Regions from separate parts of the Homo sapiens genome. Here region 1 is linked to region 2. The links are contacts of gene promoters, found by promoter capture Hi-C in blood cells and fetal thymus (Javierre and others, 2016). All regions are on one chromosome and are shown on one strand. The core of a region is centred on a gene start or on the middle of the fragment in contact, and the rest is flanking DNA. Distances in the headings are between cores, read along the strand shown. Region 1 holds the start of UPRT (uracil phosphoribosyltransferase homolog). Region 2 holds the start of PIN4 (peptidylprolyl cis/trans isomerase, NIMA-interacting 4).

Region 1 (7,385 bases), core at 358-2,857, 3.1 Mb after region 2:
AGGAATGGAAAACCAAACATTGTATGTTCTCACTCATAAGTGGGAGCTTAGCTATGATGGATACAAAGGCATATGAATGATACAATGAACTTTGGGGTCTTGGAGGAAAAGGGTGGGAAGGGCTTGAGAGATAAAAGACTACAAATAGGGTACAGTGTATACTGCTCGAGTGATGGATGCACCAAAATCTCTCAAATCACCACTAAAGAACTTACTCATCTAACCAAACAGCACCTGTTCCCCAATAACCTATGGAAATAAAAAAAAAATTATAAAAAAATCTGTATAGGCATGTTAAAAAAAGGAAGGACAGAAATACCATTCAACTCAGCAATCCCATTACTGGGTATATACCCAAAGGAACATAAATTATTGTTTTATTAAAGACACATGCACACATATGTTAACTCCAGCACTATTTACAATAACAAAGACATGGAATCAACCTAACTACCCATTAATGATAGAATGGATAAAGAAAATGTGGTACATATACACCATGGAATACTATGCAACCATAAAAAATAATGAGATCATGTCCTTTGCAGGGACATGGATGGAGCTGGAGCCTATTATCCTTAGCAAACTAACACAAGAACAGAAAACCAAATGCTGCATGTTCTCACTTATAAGTGGGAGCTAAATGATGAGAACACATGGACACATAGTGGGGAACAACACACACTGGAGCCTACTGCAGAGTGCATGGTGTGAGAAGGGAGAGGATCAGGAAAGACAACTAGTGGGTACTAGGCTTAATACCTGGGCGATGAAATAATCTTTACAACAAGCCCCCATGACAGAAGTTAACCTATGTAACAAACCTGCACATATATCCCTGAACTTAAAAGTTAAAAAAAAAAAAAGATTCTTGTATCCCATCTCGGATCTACAGAATCACAATCTCAAAAATGAGCCGTAAGAACCTGCATTTTAACAAGCTCTACAATTATTGTGGTACATACTGATGTTTGAAAAGTACTGCCCTAGACACTCTTACCTCAGGCCGTTATAGTGAGTCCATACACTTAAAAATAAGCGTCTTTCCAAGTACTTTAAAGATTCAAAATGATAGTGGATCTGAAATGCCGCCTGAGTCCCCATGACAACGTGTACACTGTGGGGCCCAACCAATAAAGATAAGAAAAGCTTTGGCGGTCAAGCATACTTGGGAAGCTGCAGTTTCTAGAACAGTCTAGTAGAGGACAGCCTCTTCAGCAGCCTGCTAGGCATTTTTTTACTTCTTCCTTCTGTTATGCAGACAAGCTAACTGAAGATGCGGTTACTGAGATATAATTTCTCTGCTAGGTCACAAAGTCTGAAAACATGGGCCTTACGTGTGTAACTGTGTATCATCACCTGCCACCCCCAGTTTTTCCTGGCTCTACTAATCACCCAAAGTTCTGAATGCAGAAGCCCCAGGGGCCCCCGGAAGATCCTTCAAGCTGGCATCCTTGGCCTCGCTGCGGGGGCTTAGCTACCTGTGGGAACCCACGTAGCAAGGGTGACTCAAAGGGTTAACAAGCAGTGGCGCCGCAGAGTGGCGGGGAGTGCAGCCAATAGGGTGTCTAGGCAGGCAGTACGTCTGGTGTGGGCGGGAGTGAGCCAAAGTGTGCTAAAGGAAACCAACAGCGGCCTAGGGGTGAAAGGACAGCCAGGGTTAGATGTTCTGAGGAGGCGGGAGCAACCGAGAGAGCACGTGAGCATCTGTCCTTTCTACCCGTTCCTCTTTATCTTTAGTGTTCAGTAGCAGCGGGGATAGCCCGGGGCCCGGTGTATGGCCACGGAGTTACAGTGTCCGGACTCCATGCCCTGTCACAACCAGCAAGTAAACTCTGCCTCAACCCCAAGTCCCGAGCAGCTGCGACCTGGCGATCTGATCCTGGACCACGCAGGGGGAAACAGAGCCTCCAGGGCCAAGGTGATTCTCCTCACGGGGTACGCCCATTCTAGCCTGCCGGCCGAGCTGGACTCTGGGGCCTGCGGCGGCTCCAGCCTCAACTCAGAGGGCAACAGTGGTAGTGGTGACAGTAGCAGCTATGACGCACCAGCTGGCAACTCCTTCCTAGAGGACTGCGAACTCTCCCGGCAGATCGGGGCGCAGCTTAAGCTGCTGCCTATGAATGATCAGATACGGGAGCTACAGACCATCATCCGTGACAAGTAAGCCAAGAGCGGAAGGGGAAAGGGAAGTGGAGGGTCTTGCAGGCTGTGGGCGGGGATTGGAAGTAAAAGGGCTAAGAGACAGTGTTCTTGGCCTTGGCAAACTTTGGAGATTGGGGTAAGACCTTTTATTTGGTGTGTGTGTGTGTGTGTGTGTGTGTGTGTGTGTGTGTGTGTCGTGTAACTCGAACGCCAACCTTCTCTTTCCAAGTTCCGGTGTCTAACATCACTTTGGGTGGGGAGGAAGACTTTAGGTAGCCTCTGGGCTCTTTGTCTCTCCCAGGAAAGACAACTCCTTGGCCATTCCAGGCAGGTAAACTCCCCTATACTATGTGGGCAGTGCTTGTCCACATGGTAAACCTATAACCCAGAAATGGTTACTATCCAAGGTTATGCACTACCACCAATCACCTCAGGTTCATAAATAGAAATAAAGCAATTTCAAGGAAATTCTATTCAGGCCCTGACCCTTTAGTATTTGCTACTGCAAACAAGGTCTTTTAGTCTTGGAGTTCAGGTTTACTTGATCACATGAAAGCTTATCGTCCAACTCTTATCATTTTTCACTGTAAACTCACAGAACATAGTTAATGGATCAAAGGGAGCCTAAAGGAGCCTTTGGCCCTTCCTAATCCCACAAACCAATGTAGCCAGAACTTCATGTTAAAATGTAATTTTGAAATTTCTAAACCTACGTTGTAAATGGGTTTTCTCCAGGGAAATATGTACCATGATGAACTACAGCTATTTTCTTTATTGGCAGCACTTTAAATGAGCAGCATATCAAAACACCCCTTTTTTAGTGGCAGGGGTTGGGGGGACATGCCTTGATCTTTTAAAAATGGCTACTGAATGACAGATGCCACTCCCTAAACCAGACTCTAGAAACCTTGTCTTACACTATTGTAATAATACTGTTTCTCTGCTTGCAGTTTTTCCTCTCTTCCACATGCACCCATACATTACTGTACAATCAATCTTCATAACATACATCTTTGATTCAGTAATTGCCCTACTCAGCAACCTTCTTTGGCTTCTCAGAGCCTACCAAATAAAGTCCAGGATCCTTAGCTTGATTGATATTTTTGAGACAGGATCTTTCTCTGTCACCCAGGCTGGAGTGCAGTGGTGAGATCACAGCTTACTGTACCCTCATACTTCTGGGCTCAAGTAATCCTCCTGCCTTAGCCTCCTGAGTAGCTGGGACTACAGGGACATGGCACTGCCCCCCGGCTAATTTTTTATTTTTTTGTAGAGATGGAGGTCTTGCTATATTGTCCACGATGGTCTTGAACTCCTGGCCTCAAGCAATCCTCGTGCCTCGGCCTCCTAAAATGTTGGGATTACAGGTGTGAGCCACCATGCCTGGCCCCCTTAGCTTGGGATGAAGGCCCTTCTTCATAGTTCCTAGGAACAATTCTGAAACATATCTGTTTCTGCTCTCATCTGGAATTCCCTGTGTCTCCTTTATGTACGTTCAGGATACTTATTCTTCAGGGTGAAACACAGCATTAAATAATTGTCCACCTCTGCCAAGAAGCTTCCCTTTAATCATTATTCCTGGCTTATCTTCCCTGGTCTTTTTAATGCAAGATTCACCTTCTTTTTCGTATATTGTTATTTTTGTATAGATCTTATCCTGCCTATGACATCTTGAAGGCAGAAATCTTTTACATTTTTGAATGCCGGCCATGCCTTGCAAATAATAGATGCTCAATTACTAGAGTTTTTTTGTAGCTCTTAAAATTATATTTATGAAACTATACTATTTTACTCTTTTTAATGAATCAATATTGAAAACTACTGTGGTTATGTTATCTAATAGACAAAATAGTGATCCTAAAAAATAGGAGGCATAGGTTTGCTGTAGTTGTGGTAGGGTAGGGGCAGCCAAAATAAATCTTACATATACAACAAAGAAAAATAGATGATGATTCTTGTTTCTATAGAGCAGAAGTTACTACGCTTGGGTCTTCGACTCCCTCGTACCAGTAGATGGGTTCAGGGCTTTAACAAACCCTCATAAATTAACTGGGAAATTTTACTCATATGAAGATTTTTAATAGTTGTTTTTAAATAACATCTTTATTGAGATATAATTCACAGACCATACAGTTCAAGAATTTAAAGTGTATAATTCAGTGGTTTTAAGTATGTTCACAGCTGTGCATTCATCACCACAGTTTTAGAACATTTGTCATCACCCCAGCAAGAAACCTCATGCCCATTAAACAGTCACTCCCCATTTTCACCCAACCCACCCAAAGCCCTAGACAATCATTAATCTACTTTCTATTTCTAATGGTTTGCCCATTCTGCACATTACATATAAAAAATGTCTATTCTGGACATTTCATTATCATACAATATGTGGTCATTTTGTGACTCATTTCATTTAGCATGTTTTCAAGGTTCATCCGTGTGGGATCTTTCCTTTTTATGATTAAATGATACTCCATTATATGAATATACCACAATTTGTTTATCCATCAGTTGGTGAACATTTGGGTGGTTTACCACTCTTTGGCTATTATGAATAATGCTGCTATGAACATTCACATATGTGCCTTTTTTTTTAGAGGGTGAGGATTCCTTAGTTTTTTAGATTTCACAAAGTGTCATGATAATGTAAAGGTGAAGTGCCCTTGCTATAGCGCTTGGAGAGGGAATGGCATTTAGCATTCACATATGACAAAATAATACCTGATTATATGTCATTAGTCAGAAAAACCTGGGTTATGTAGTAAACCTGGGTGTAAGTGGAATCCTTTTTTTTTTTTCCTCTAAGTTTGGAAGGAGACAGCAGGATCCAGAGAAGTGATTTAGGCAATATGTTTAGCATCTCTGTGCTTCACCTTTATCATTTGTAAAATGAAGATGTTGGTAAATATCACATGGAGCCCCTGGGAGGCTAAAACAAGATACTGTTCATGAATATTCATTATGAACTGTGAAGAGCTGTTCACATTTAAGGAATTTCAAGCCTCATGTTTGGATTTGTGCATGCTTCTAATTGCATTCATAAGTGCTGTCTTCTTGATTTGTCAGAAGACAGTAAAATGAATTTAACTCTATGTGGAATTCACTTTTTTATCTTGAAAATGAATACTGGGATATTGTAGATAATTTTTATCTTGTTTTGATATAGTATGGAAAGACCCACCACAATTTTTAGTAATGTATTGCTGCTTATTTAGGCTGGGGACATTGTTTTTAGTTTTGTTTTTGTTAACCAAATTAGAGGCTTTATATTCCCTTTATCTTTAAAAAATTGTCATCCTCTCTCACAAGACCTGTTTTAGCCCCTCTAGGAGGCTGGTTTAAGGTGCCTATGGTAAGAGGAGCTATATTTACATAGGTCTAGTTATGGAAGGTGCCATCAGTTATCATACCCTGTTCTCTTTGGGGCTTATTCTCTTCTCTATTTTGATGTGACAGCATAAATGTGCACTGTGGAACTGTCCGATAATAGAAGCCACTGGAGTACATATTTTTTCTTTTATTGTTTCTGGTCCTTAGCATCTATATAGTGAAGGGATTGCTTTGTGAATTGACTTTGGTATGGGGAAATCGGGATTGAGCCAGCAGGACTGCATGTTGTTGTATATATGTGAAACAGGCAAGATTGAGAACATTGTCTGTATTGATTTAAAATGTCTTTTTAGATTTTGAAATGTGCAATATTTGAAACATAATATGTTGGTTGTATTATTGAATTTCAAGGAAATAAATTTCTCTCTTTGAAAGTGCAGTAAACACTGAGTAGATTATTTGCTCAGCCATACGTATGTGGGTTGCTGGTGAACTTGGGATAAGAAAAAATTTCTTCATTTATGTCGTTTTGTTGTTGTTGCAATGGATTAAACCACACATCCTTCTCTTCTGCCTCCTTTATATACTAAACTCAGCAAAATCTGAGTAATGTGCTTTTCCTGTGAATATAGTTCATGACCTCATATTTAAAGGCAATGCAGTGTATTTAAAAGATCATCCTCCCTGTCCAGTTTTTTGTTTTTTATTTTTTGTTTCCTGAAACATTAAAGCTGTTGTGTGAGCTGTTGAATGCTTCCTGTGTATTTGTCCTAGGTGGGGCTTTGGCATGGCCTCAGCAAGCTGCTTGTTTAAAAGTTTAGCAATGTTAGAGTATGTCAGTATGTGACATAGGACAAAAAAAGGAGCACATTCAGCCTTGTGACTCTCTTTAGTCACCTGGAGGGGAGAAAATTATCCTTAGGGTGAATGAACATCCTGTGTAACCCTAATGTGAGTGCAATCTAATGTGATTTGAGTTATGTGACTAAGTAATGTATTGTCCTTAACCAAAGCTGTGTGCATCAGAATTGCCTGTGGAGTCTCTCTCTCTTTTTTTAAAATACAAGTTCCTGACTCCCATCCTTAGCAGTTGTTTGTATAGTCTTGAGTAAAACCTGACCACAGGTAATTGTGCTGTGTTTAGACTGGGCCATTGCCCCTGGGAGAATGGCCAGTCTCCCTTGTGTGCTGATTTGCTAGCCTGCTGATTCGGGCTATAGATATGGTGATCCAGGGATTCCACACACTAAACAGAACTAGGCTAGAGAGCCTGACCTAGCATTACATCAACACTGGAGGAATCTCCCAACATTTCCTTCCAGCTTGCACAAAACCAAAATGCCCACCGCAGAAAAAAACTGTGACGTGCAAATTGTTTAAAACATGGACATATTTTCGGTTTTTGTGTGTTTCCCGTGTGAGTCCTCTGACTTTTAGAGCAGGAAGGAGGAAGTCACCACTAAGCTATACGGACCTCTGTTATAACATTTACTGGGCATATCCTGGTATACCTAACTAGACTGGACTCCAAGGAGGCAGAAAGGGGGTCTGACCTGGCACAGTCCCTGACACAAAGGATAATTAATGTAGCAATTGTAATCAGATAAAATGATAGTTTCCCTTGTTTTTCTGTCCCATTTTTTTGCAATAATTTCAACATTTGTTTTATTTTTTTAAAGCTTTCAGGTTTCACTTATTTATTTTTTTCCATAAGTTATTGGGGTACAGGTGGTATTTGATTACATGAGTAAGTTCTTTAGTGGTGATTTATGAGATTTTGGTGCACCCATCACCCAAGCAGTATACACTGCATCATATTTGTAGTCTTTTATCCCTTGACCCCCTCCCACCCTTTCCTCCCAAGTTGCTAAAGTCCATTATATTATTCTTATATCTTTGCATCCTCATAG
Region 2 (6,441 bases), core at 1,804-4,303:
TGGCAACCGCCCCGTCTGAGAAGTGAGGAGCCCCTCCGTCTGGCAGCCACCCCGTCTGGGAAGTGAGGAGCGTCTCCGCCCGGCAGCCACCCCGTCCGGGAGGGAGGTGGGGGGGGTCAGCCCCCCGCCCGGCCAGCCGCCCAGTCCGGGAGGGAGGTGGGGGGATCAGCCCCCCGCCCGGCCAGCCGCCCCGTCCGGGAGGGAGGTGGGGGGGTCAGCCCCCCGCCTGGCCAGCCGCCCCATCCGGGAGGGAGGTGGGGGGTCAGCCCCCCACCTGGCCAGCCGCCCCGTCCGGGAGGGAGGTGGGGGGGGTCAGCCCCCCGCCCGGCCAGCCGCCCCGTCCGGGAGGGAGGTGGGGGGATCAGCCCCCCGCCTGGCCAGCCGCCCCGTCCGGGAGGTGAGGGGCGCCTCTGCCCAGCCGCCCCTACTGGGAAGTGAGGAGCCCCTCTGCCCGGCCAGCCGCCCCGTCCGGGAGGGAGGCGGGGGGGGGGTCGGCCAGCCGCCCTGTCCGGGAGGGAGGTGGGGGGGTCAGCCCCCCGCCCGGCCGGCCGCCCCGTCCGGGAGGTGAGGGGCGCCTCTGCCCGGCCGCCCCTACTGGGAAGTGAGGAGCCCCTCTGCCTGGCCAGCCGCCCCGTCCGGGAGGATGGTGGGGGGGTCAGCCCCCCGCCCGGCCAGCCGCCCCATCCGGGAGGTGAGGGGCGCTTCTGCCCGGCCGCCCCTACTGGGAAGTGAGGAGCCCCTCTGCCCGGCCACGACCCCGTATGGGAGATGTGCCCAGCGGCTCATTGGGGATGGGCCATGATGACAATGGCGGTTTTGTGGAATAGAAAGGCGGGAAGGGTGGGGAAAAAATTGAGAAATCAGATGGTTGCCGGGTCTGTGTGGATAGAAGTAGACATGGGAGACTTTTCATTTTGTTCTGTACTAAGAAAAATTCTTCTGCCTTGGGATCCTGTTGATCTGTGACCTTATCCCCAACCCTGTGCTCTCTGAAACATGTGCTGTGTCCACTCAGGGTTAAATGGATTAAGGGCGGTGCAAGATGTGCTTTGTTAAACAGATGCTTGAAGGCAGCATGCTCGTTAAGAGTCATCACCACTCCCTAATCTTAAGTACCCAGGGACACAAACACTGCGGAAGGCCGCAGGGTCCTCTGCCTAGGAAAACCAGAGACCTTTGTTCACTTGTTTATCTGCTGACCTTCCCTCCACTATTGTCCTATGACCCTGCCAAATCCCCCTCTGCGAGAAACACCCAAGAATGATCAATAAAAAAAAAAAATAAAAAATAAAAAATAAAAAAAAAAAAAAAAGAAAGAAAAATCAAAAGTAAATGTTCCTCTTGGGCCTCTTGGCCATAGATAACCTGATGAACACAAGGCTACGCTGTCATCGTCAACACCCAATCCCAACTCCCCCGCCCCTCCATCTCGCAGCCGAACTTGGAGAATTAGTACAGGTGCGGGATCCACTTCAGAAGTGGCAGAGCAATGATCCCCTCACCACTAGATGTGTCCTCCGCAGTTGATCACTCCCAATCCGAAAACAAGGAGTGCCCAAAATGTGTCCAGAATTTAAAGCAGCCAAACATAAGAGGGCTCCATGTTATGTCTTGAGTAGGGAATGAGCACAGTCTCAGAAACACCTGATTCCCTGGTATGAGCATGAAGCATCTCCAGGTCCAGCAAGGCTGCATCCAAAAACTAAACTCTGAGCTGGAAGACCTCTATATTCTGGCTGGTAGTGGCAAGCTAGGACAGCTCTCTCATGGACTGGAGGAAACGCCCTGACATATCATATACAAATTATTGATGGTGGGAGGGATTGTAAGGGGAGAAAAAGTGTGTGGGCACAAATTCAAAAATCATTTATCTTAGGCAAACATTATTAATATGAGCAAGCCATCATTTTATGTGCTTTACAGATATGAACTTGTTTAATTCTCTTAACACCTGATAGGATAATAGTAGGTACTATTATCATCAACTCCATTTCACAGATGATGAAACTGAGCCAAAGAGAGGTGAAGTAACTTCCTCAAGGTCATGGAGCTAGTAGACAGATGTGGAGCAGGGATTTGAAACTGGGCAATCTGGCTCCAGAATCCATGCTTTTACTACACTATGCTGCACCATTATGGAAATTTTGGAAAATACACAGAAACAAACACGATGACCTGTATGCACTAGCACCACTGGCCACATCTTGCTCTATAGCTTTCCTCTCCTTTATATTCATATAACATACAATACATTACATATACTTCTTTTACAAGGAATCATATTCTTTATCTTGGTCTTAAAAACATTTCCCCTATCTGTACACACAGCCTTACAATCGTTATTTTGAATGTTGTATAATATCTTCTTGTGTGGCTAAAACATTATTTAAGCAGTACCCGACTGAGGAGCACTCAGACTGCTTCCAATGTTTCTCCATGACTGAGCTCTGCAAGACGCAAAAAGGTGACAGGCTTTTTTAAAAACTACCTTTTGAACCTAATTAGCTACAACTGCAGAATAAAATTAACAAACGAAAAACTGCCAGGGAGGGCAGCCCTGTGTGTAGGAGGAGACAGCGGAAGTTGGCCGCCACCACAGTACTCCTGCTTCCCTTTGTCTGGCGGCCCCGCGGGATTGGCCAGAGCTGGCGCCGAGGGACTGCAGAGCCACCCACCCCCGTGGCTCCTACTGCGCACGCGTGAAAAAAGCCAGGTTGAGGGGAACGGGGGAGCTTCGGGCGTAGAGTGTGGGGAGTGGGGGATCTGGTGCAAATTAGGGTGCGTGAAAGAAGTCACAAAAAGCGCAGAGGCCAGGCTTCCCGCCCTAATCCGGCCTTTGTCTCCGCCCCTCTGCCTTTGTTTCGGCCCAAGCGTCTTATTGGTCAGACATCTTCAGCCCCATTGGTCCAAGAGCCAAAGGACGGGGTCTGCCCCAAGCTGTGCCTGCTTCCGGAGCCGCAATAAGAACGGTCAATTGAGATGCGGCTTTCAGGCATTTGTTTAGGACATGCCCATGGCGGGGCTTCTAAAGGGGCTTGTACGGCAACTGGAGCGGTTCAGCGTTCAACAACAAGCTTCCAAGATGCCGCCCAAAGGAAAAAGTGGTTCTGGAAAAGCGGGGAAAGGTAGAGCGGCCAGAGCGATCAAGGAGAATGGGGGCGGGTGAGGAGCGAAGGGAGGGAACAGACAGTCCATCTCCGGAGTCCGGGACGGACGCAGCAGGTAGCCAGTGGCCCCACAGTGCTGCCATCGATTACATCTGTAGGAATACATTGGGCTACGGTTCAGGGACCGTCCTAGTGGGTAATGGAATCTGATGGGGATAGTTCCTCGGAGGCGATGACTTAGGGCTGCTATTTCAAGGGGTTATTAGAGCTCTAAAATTGGGTCTTATCAAAAGCCAGCAATAGGAAGTACACATTGGTTATGGTCCTTAAAGTTCACTTTAATGCTTACAGAATGACATGCCCACCATCGGGGAAGGAATCATTCATCCATTGAACAGAAATGTGTCAGGCAGAGTGCTAAGCGCTGAGGATACACAAATAAGACAGAAGGCTGGGCGCGGTGGCTCACGCCTATAATCCCAGCACTTTGGGAGGCCGAGGGAGGATGGATCACGAGGTCAGGAGTTCGAGACCAGCTTGGCCAACATGGCGAAACCCCGTCTCTACTAAAAATACAAAAATTCGCCAGGCGTGGTGGTGGTGCGCGCCCGTAATCCCAGCTACTCGGGAGGCTGAGGCAGGAGAATCGCTTGAACTCGGGAGGCAGAGGTTGCAATGAACCGAGATCGCGCCACTGCACTCCAGCCTGGGCGACAGAGCGAGCCTCTGTCTCAAAAAAAAAAAAGAGATTTTGGCCTTAAGGAGCTCCCGAAGTAGTGAGGAAGATAAAGGCTTAGTGATCATAAAGCACTGTACTAAATGTAGTGTTGAGGGATGTGTATGGGATATAATAGAAATTGAGGGAAGTCCTTCATTTAGCTGGGGAACAGGGAACGGAAGACTTCCTGGAGATGAATTAGGCAGGTCAAGATGTGCATTGAGGGTAGGTTAAAGCATTCCTTACTTGGGGTCCAGCAGCAAAAGCACTGAGGTGAGAAACAGCATGATGTGTGCAGCGTAGTGTTGCTGGAGCAAAAACTCAAGGCAGAATGGCAAGTGGTGAGAATGAAAACAGAAACAAAGACGAGATCATGGAGAGTGCTATATATTCTGCTAAGAAGGACAGTTAAGGATCAGAAAGACCTGTAAGGAGATTGTTGTGGTAGTCTTGGTGAGAGATGATGGTGGACTGACCTAAGGGAGTGGCTGTGGGAACTGAGAAAAGAGAAAAGATTCTGTAAATATTAGGATGTGAAATAGTCAAGACTTGGTGATTTATTGGGTTGGGGAGGGGTGGTGAGGGAGGATCAACGATCATTCTGTTTTCTGGATTGGATTTCTAACCTGTTGCTGGTCCTGCAGGGTAACATCAAGGATACATGAGGAGCGGGGATGAGATTGATGAATTCACTTTCAGATAGATTGGCTTTGAGGTGTCTGTGGGACATCTCAGTGGAGATGTAGTCAGGAAGTGGTTGGATATTTGAGTCTAAAGTTTGAGGGAGAGGTCTAGACTGTACATGTAAGTTTTAGGAGTCGCTAACTTATAGATGGTAGTTGAGCCCATTAGAGTGTATGCAATTATCCATGGAGAGTTTATAGAATGAAAAGAGCAGAGAGCAGAGGATGTGATCCTAGGACAGGCAGAGAAAGAGGCAGACAGATAGAGGGAGTGCAGAATGGTGGCCAGAGGCTGGAGAGACCAGAATGTTTTAAAGAGAGAGGGTATAGTCTATCAAGAACAGCAGATTTGGAAATTAGAGGTGGCCTTGGGTAAAAGTGGTTTCAGTGAAACAGAAGCCAGATTACCGTGACTAGAGAACTGACTGGGAAGTGGTAATTTGGACTTCTTGGAAAGTTTTAATTGAAAAGCATGGAAATGGGATGGTAGATAGAGAAGGACAGAGGATTAAGAGAAAGTTTTATTTTCTTTGCTTCTTTGGAATGGGGAAAACTTGGGAGTGAAGCTGAAGGATCCAGTAAAGTAAAAGAGGTAAAGGTACAGAAGAGTGAGATTTAGGAGAAAATGGAATCCAGGACCTAGGGGGAGCAGGGACACCTTATGCTTGAGGTCATAGGAAAGGAGATGGAGGGGCAGGGACTCAGTAGGCATCTTGAGGAGAGTGGTAAAGGTCTGGAATATCGTAATGGAAGAGGGAATGAAACACAAAAGAAGTGCCTTCAGGGCTAGGAGCCTGACTAAGATCAAAGGCCATGAATTTGTAGACTACATAATCTTCACAGTCTGATTTACCTAGTACTATGCAATTGGCACAATATAGGATTGAAAAGAGCTAGGTGCAGCCTTAAGCCATGGTTGAGGTTTTGTTAGGCAGTTATGATAGGAGGATAGCAACACCAGGGAATTACAAGGGCCAGTGGGAATGCAGTTCAGATGAAGGAACATGGGGTCCAGAGTGGGAAGGGAAAAAGAAGTCTGGTGGCCTAGGTGAATGTAGCAGGACGAAGGGACTGGGGTCAAGGGAGAGGTTCTGTGAAGTTAAAGAGCAAGTATTGTGGGAATGAGACATGAGGAAGCTGGAAGAACAGGAGGTTATAGCCAGAGACTGAACTAGTTCTGAGTGGCACAGTTCCATCGTGTGCCCCCGGGGCAGGTAGCTTGGAGTAGAGAGCATGACATTCGGGAAAGAGACCTAGAACTGAGATTCCCCAAGATAGATGGTGAGGTCACTCAAGGTAATGGCAGGAGTGAGGGTGGAGAGGAAGCCCAAAGCTGATGCCAGAGTCGTCAGGAAATCAAAGGCAGTGAGGTGGCAGTCAGAAGATGACAGCATCCAGCAGGGAAGAGGATGGGATAACTGGAAGGCATCATCATTCAAGAATGGATCTATAGCAAACCCAGTTAGGAGTTTGATTTAATAACACTCCTTTGGCAGTAACATTTTTTTAGGGTTTTGGTAGTCAGTATTTGGGGTTTTCAGTTTAATCAAACATTTATTAAAACACCTTTTGTGTGCCAGGCATTGTGCTAGGCTTGGAGATACTAAGACAAGCAAGATGGAGACTCTTGCTTAAAACTTTTCAATGGCGGCCAGGCGCGGTGGCTCACGCCTGTAATCCCAGCACTTTGGGAGGCCGAGGCTCGCAGATCACGAGGTCAGGAGATCGAGACCATCCTGGCTAACAGGGTGAAACCCTGTCTCTACTAAAAATACAAAAAAAATTAGCGGGGCGTGGTGGCAGGCGCCTGTAGTCCCAGCTACTCGGGAGGCTGAGGCAGGAGAATGGCATGAACCCGGGAGGCGGAGCTTGCAGTGAGCCGAAATCGCGCCACTGCACTCCAGCCTGGGCGACAGACAGAGCGAGACTCCGT

What was found. Contacts are between HindIII fragments. The CHiCAGO score rates a contact against its expected background, and 5 or more counts as called.
Region 1: a contact is called between the fragment with the promoter of UPRT here and the fragment with the promoter of PIN4 in region 2, in 2 of 17 cell types (total B cells and total CD8 T cells). The highest score is 7.4, in total B cells.

The regions. Positions count from the first base shown.
Region 1 is chrX:75,272,478-75,279,862 of GRCh38, forward strand. UPRT (uracil phosphoribosyltransferase homolog) reads left to right here and starts at 1,608. Exons shown (of 7, transcript NM_145052.4): 1 at 1,608-2,163. The coding sequence starts at 1,778. It overlaps LOC124905200 (a long non-coding RNA gene), which reads right to left and starts at 1,559. Exons shown (of 4, transcript XR_007068269.1): 1 at 1,001-1,559. RefSeq lists enhancers at 1,499-1,548, 1,569-1,618, 1,779-1,988. The HindIII fragment of the contact is 1,552 bases long and covers 1,148-2,699 here.
Region 2 is chrX:72,178,704-72,185,144 of GRCh38, forward strand. It overlaps PIN4 (peptidylprolyl cis/trans isomerase, NIMA-interacting 4), which reads left to right and starts at 3,054. Exons shown (of 4, transcript NM_006223.4): 1 at 3,054-3,125. The coding sequence starts at 3,083. RefSeq lists an enhancer at 3,094-3,313. The HindIII fragment of the contact is 4,711 bases long and covers 1-3,072 here.